2 separate regions of the Homo sapiens genome follow, and region 2 is linked to region 1. Evidence: promoter capture Hi-C in human tissues and cell types (Jung and others, 2019). All regions are on one chromosome and are shown on one strand. Each heading gives the region's core, a stretch centred on a gene start or on the middle of the fragment in contact. The rest is flanking DNA. Distances are from core to core; before and after follow the strand shown.

Region 1 (3,036 bases), core at 394-2,893:
TAAAACCCTTGGATCTTGGCCCTATAACTTTTGGCAGAGTATATTACTGCTTCATGGCCTGGCAGTGCAGTGACTCTTTTAATTTACTTTAAAATAGCTTTTCCCTAATCTGTACAACCTAACATCTGACCAATCATGAATCTTCAGCAAACTTAAGCCTCTTATTCCATACATTTTTTAAAACTGTAAAAATTCAGGAAATAACTCTTTGCAAAGTACATTGAAGCATTTATTGGGAAGCAAAAAAGCACAAGTTGAAGTGATTTGTAGTTTCATAAAAACGAATTTGACATTTTACTTAGAAGTTGCAAACCACCACATGGTTTTGAGTTTTGAATTCATTTGCTTTGCAAAAAGTGGAATGTTTTATTTGAATGGAAATGCCCTCAAGTTACTTCCAGCATGGCTGTAGGATTGATTTTTCTAGGTTAAGGGAATGCCAAAGTTTAGTGCCTTGTGTATATTCTTTTCGAAAAAAACAAACTATTATCCATGTATTTAAATGGACGTAGGAAATTCAAGAACAAATCAGGGAAATTTAACATCATTTCAGTATTACCAACATAGGGCTTTGTGTAACGACTGTGACATCAAGATAAGGCTTTACCTCGGCTCATCCAATAGAAATACAGTATGTAAATTAACCCATATTATCTGTATGCTGATTGGCCTGAGTTCCCCTGAATGTCACAATCTCACCACCCAGCAATGAGGTATTTTACTGCTGTCTCAAGATCAGATTATTACTGTAGAGAAGATTTTTATTTTTTGTTTCATTAACAGATTATTATAAAGCAAAAAGCATGCAGAAAAAGAAGCAGACGTTTTACATTGGGAATTAATGAAAGCGTGTCTGCTAGTTTTGGGTAGGAGAACTGGGAAGTTGTTGCTTAAAATTTTATATCACCTCCACAAACAAAACTCTTCGGAAATGGTAAAATAAGAAAATGCATGATTCTAGAGGCATTCCTAAGCACCCACGTGTCAGGCTTTGTGGTGTCTGTGGTATCATCCGACCGTTTGGACTGGTGTAAGTTTTACGTATTTGTTATATTTCTAGTATTTTTCATCTGTAATAACAAAGGGGAAAAAAGGAAACTCGTACACATAACTGCTTTGACATCACCCATCATTGGTCAGCGGAACTTGTAAGAAGGGAAAAGGAATACTGTTGCTTGGTGGGGTGGAATGCCAGGAATAGCCATTTAAACATTTTATAAGCCTGATTCTTTAGTGACATCCTTTAAGGTAGACTGAATGTAAATCATATTGTAGTTGTCCTCTGAACTTAGCTTTCTCCCTACTTTTACGCATATTTGCGTGCATTGGAGAATAGAAGATGACTAACAAAGAGAGAGCTGCCCTAACGTGCCTTCCCTTCTTCCCCATTGAAAAGATTTTTAACTGTGGGAAAAAGATAAATAAATAAATAAATAACTTTTTTTCTTTTTTCCCATTCTTTTCTTGTCTTTTTCCAGCTAACCTGCAAATTTAAAGGTTAGCTGGAGACATCACTTAAAAATAAATATATAAAAGAAGCCTCCGGTGGTTTGGACCACCCTAAAAGAAAAGGGAAGAAAGTGTCTGGGGAAGGTTAGGGTTCCGGGAAGCTGAGGGAGGGGGCGGGCGTCACGGGCACTGTGACTTCCTCGTGCGCTGCCTTTGGGAAGAGGATGGGCCTGAGGTCCTGAAAGGGCCTTTCCAGCCCCCCACTACAAATGCGGGGAGGGAAAAGTTCAGAAGCAGCCACGAAGGGACAAAAGCTTAATGCTGCCAGTTGGATTGGACAGGGCAGTCAATAAACCCAGCCAGCTCTGGAGTCAGGTAGGGGTTCCTGCTGGTTCCACAGAGGCTGAAGCAGCCCCGCCGCCGCCCTCGCCACCGCAGCCGCCGCCGCCGCGGCCCCTGCGTTACTGGGGGAGACGGTGCCGCTGCGACAGGGGAGGACGCGGCTGGAGCTCAAGGAGGCTCCAGCGCGCAGGCGCCGCCGAGCCCTGCCTGGATGCTCAGTCAAGGCACTAAGGCAAAAAAAAAAAAAAAAAAAACAAAAAACAAAAAAAAAAAAAAAAAAAAGAAAAAGAAAAAAAGAAAAAAATCAGCAATTTATAGAAAGAAGCTATAGTCTGTCGGGATATCCAACACCAACAGGTAGGAGGATATACTCTTGGTTAAGTTTGGGGGATGTGGGGGAATGCACAGTGTTGATGAAACTGCAGGTTCACCGAGAAAGAGCCCTCCCTCAGGTTGTGTGTGTGTGTGTGTGTGTGTGTGTCTCTGTGTGTGTGTGTGTGTGTGTGTGTGTATGTGTTTTGTGACAATAAACTGCATAATGGAAGTACATTCAGACAATGCATCTTCAGTAGGGCTTACTGAGAGCTCCATTTCTGGAAAGCCTTACAAGACTGAGGAATATCAGACTGCGAATCACCGGGAACGGTTCCTTTGCAGCACAGAAGCAATCTCTCTCCCCATCTTCGCGTATGTAATGCATGTCTCTCTCCCTCTCCCCCTCCTCCACCCTCCCCCCATTATAAATCCAGGGGTGGCGGATTTCAGGTTTCGTAATGTTGCATGATGCGATCGGTATTTACCCGAGGATGTACCGGTGGGGAAATTAAAATCATCGAACGCAGTTTTGCCTGGGCTTCCACCAGCATATTCCGGGCCAGTGAGAAGTGGCAAAAGAAACACGCTTGGTGGGAATAACAGAGGAAGCCGATTTCCCTGGTGTGGTCCAGGCACCTGCGAGACAATGTGCATTTTGTTTTAAAAAGCAGCCACTTGTGATTTGCAACAAAGGTTATCAGTGTAAATGGGAAAGGCTTAATTGCCCAAGAAATACAGGTTCATGTTATATTCATTTGAATCCAGGCAGCCAAGGTTTACAAATGGAAGTGCATTATTCCTCTGGGTGTGTTTCCCTGTCCAATATTTACATTAACCATTTTAATAATCATGTGGGCTTAAAAGATTTGCCAGAAATGGGGGGTAGGGTGGAGAGGGAAAGACAAATGATTAAATCACATCAAATCTTGG
Region 2 (3,036 bases), core at 184-2,683, 86 kb after region 1:
GAACAGATGCTTTATCTCCCATTAGGTTGCACAAACCTGGAAAATCTAGAAATCTGCTGCCACTCCCAGCCCCTCAGACAGCTAACAGGAACCAGTGACAGACTACCCAGAATAAAAACTCCAAGGGGCATCTGAAGTTGAAGGTTATAGATGTCAGCTGATGTGGCCTCTTGGGAAAGCTAGTGCTCTATTTCAATAGGATTATGAGGTTTAATTGACTAGTGCTGCTAAAGTGTGTACCATCCAGTCACAGAGTTTGTAGTCTTAGCTTCATAGATTTGAGTTAATTTCCTCCCAAGGGAGGCATTTGCAATTTTCTTAAGTGATAGATTTCACCTAATACCCACAGTGGTTAAAATCTTGATAGTTAAAAAGTAAAAGTTAATGGGTTTCAAACAAGCTGTTCCCAATATCTACACAATTTGTTCTCTTTTTTATGAATATTCCCAGGTTGAGGGTGAATTGGATGAAATAGAAGAAATGCAAATCTCTTCTTCAGATTGGGTTTCTGAGACAACATCAAGTGCCAAGCAAGGGAAATTTCCATTTTCATTAAAAACAAATTTCCATTTTATTGAAAAATACTATCATTTTTGAACTGTAAGGATTAACAGTACCGAATTAAAATTCTACCACTTATTAACTATGCAAATTCGAATAAGTTACTTAATTTCCCTAAGTCTCAGTTTCCTCACCTGTAAAATAGTGGTAACAATAACTGTGACTATTAAATGAGATAATGCAAAATATAAGACTTGACACTTGCTTGGCAGATATATTACACCTATTTATTGCTATTATTACTAAATGTTTTGAGAATTGGTTTATCCTCTAATTAAGTAACTATGGATGTGGGTATTTAATTTATAGAACTAAACTTGAACTCGAAAGCTTGAGCAAAGCAAACATTTTAAATGGTTTTTCAAATTATTTTTCTATTACTTCTCTGTGTCAAATCTGAGTCTAATTTACCTGAAAGATGACACTCAAAACTGAGGTGATTATTGTACTGACAACTCCAATTATCCAGTCTTTTAAGGATCCTAATACGCATATATTATTCACTATAATCTTTTAATTTTTCAATGCTATCAGTTGGGTAAAGCATAGCTTGTTTGAGAAGATATTTCTTCATCTATATTTACAGAAAGAAAGGGCACATGCTACCGTGCTGTTTTATTGAGTAAAATAACCCATGGAAAAATCCTAATCTTACTGCTAGGATACTCTTAAAAAACAACAATCTACTTGAATTCAACTCTAAGCAGTATGTGCAAGGCACTAGGATACAATAATTAGTCATTAAGAAACAAGAGAAGCAGCTGCATTTCCTGTACAGTTTGTCTGTACCAGAAGCTGGAGAGCCTGAGAGAAATCTGTTTTAACAATTAAGAGAGATTTCTTAATCTCTATACGAACTATTAAGTAAGAAGAGTGAATACATGAATATATACTGAGAACACACCACCATAAAAAAAATCCGAATCTACATGTAAGGCTACACGTAAGAGTTTTAAAGCCACAAAACGTGGGTCGTCTTTGTGTGTTTAATCTTAAAGTTGTGTTAAGTTCTACTTTTGACCACACTTAACCAGGACTGAGCCATCCTCTGCCACAAACATCAGAAAATGCAGACCAATATGCTCCCCAGCAACAGAGTAAATTCAAAATATCTGTTGGTAGGAGAGGCAAGTTGTGCTTATCCTTTGGGCCATTGAGCAAATTTGGAATCATAGAAACTGTTTTTTTCTTACAAATACTTAGACTAGGAAATTAAAACAACAAACAGCACTTAAAATGGTAGCATTGTGCATATGAGACTTTGAGTATTATAATGAAAATCATTTTTATTTTTTATTTTTTTAAAGTTATGAATTGCTTATTTCTGGAATTTTCCATTTAATATTTTTGGACTGTGGTTGAAATCACAGAAAATGAAACCCTGGATAAAAAGGGGATTACTTGTGTTTCTTTTTAAAAAAACAACTTTTATTTTAGGTTCAGAGGTACATGTGCAGGTTTGTAATATAGGTAAACTCATGTCATGGGGGGTTGCTATACAGATTATTTCATCATCCAGGAGCTAAGCCTAGTACCCAATAGTTATTTTTTCTGATCCTTTCCTCCCTACCACCTTGCACCCTCAGGTAGGTCCCAGTGTCTGTTGTTCTCTATGTGTCCATGTGTTTTCATCATTTAGCTCCCACTTATAAGTGAGAAGATGTGGTATTTGGTTTACTGATCCTGCATTAGTTTGCCGAGGATAATGGGCTCCAGCTCCATCCATGTTCCTGCAAAAGACATAATTTCCTTATTTATGGCCACATAGTATTCCATGGTGTATATGTACCACATTTTCTTTATCCAGTCCACCTTTGATGGGCATTTAGGTTGATTCCATGTCTTTACTATTGTGAATAGTATTGTGAATGGTGCTGCAATGAACATTTGCATGCACGTGTCTTTATGGTAGACTGATTTCTATTCCTTGAGTATACACCCAGTAATAGGATTGCTGGGTCAAATGGTAGTACTATTTTTAGCTCTTTGAGGAATCATCACACTGCTTTCCACAATGGCTGAACTAATTTACACTCCCACCAATAGTGTATAAGTTTTCCCTTTCCACCACAACCTCTCCAGCATCTGTTATTTTTTGACTTTTTAACAATAGCCATTCTGGGCTGAGCGCAGTGGCTCATGCCTGTAATCCCAGCACTTTGGGAGGCTGAGGCGGGTGGATCATGAGATCAGGAGATCAAGACCATCCTGGCTAACACGGTGAAACCCCACCTCTACTAAAAATACAAAAAATTAGCTGGGCGTGGTGGCGGGTGCCTGTAGTCCCAGCTACTCGGGAGGCTGAGGCAGGAGAATGGTGTGAATCCGGGAGGCAGAGCTTGCAGTGAGTCAAGATCGCGCCACTGCACTCCAGCCTGGGTGAAAGAGTGAGACTCCGTCTCAAAAAAAAAAAAAAAAAAAAAAACAACAGGAAAAAAAAACCAATAGCCATTCTGACTGGTGTGAAATGATATC

Evidence for each region. The method cuts DNA at HindIII sites, captures the fragments that hold promoters and counts their contacts. A contact is called where the count stands out against the background at its distance.
Region 2: a contact is called between a fragment that was not itself captured here and the fragment with the promoter of GPR85 in region 1, in 2 of the 25 tissues and cell types used here (IMR-90 fibroblasts and spleen).

The regions. Positions count from the first base shown.
Region 1 is chr7:113,085,434-113,088,469 of GRCh38, reverse strand. It overlaps GPR85 (G protein-coupled receptor 85), which reads left to right and starts at 1,643. Exons shown (of 3, transcript NM_001146267.2): 1 at 1,643-2,148; 2 at 2,361-2,478. RefSeq lists a silencer at 1,898-1,957. The HindIII fragment of the contact is 9,773 bases long and covers 1-3,036 here.
Region 2 is chr7:112,999,095-113,002,130 of GRCh38, reverse strand. No RefSeq gene overlaps it. Among named protein-coding and RNA genes, the nearest start is that of HRAT17, 5.0 kb to the right of the region's middle. The HindIII fragment of the contact is 7,892 bases long and covers 1-3,036 here.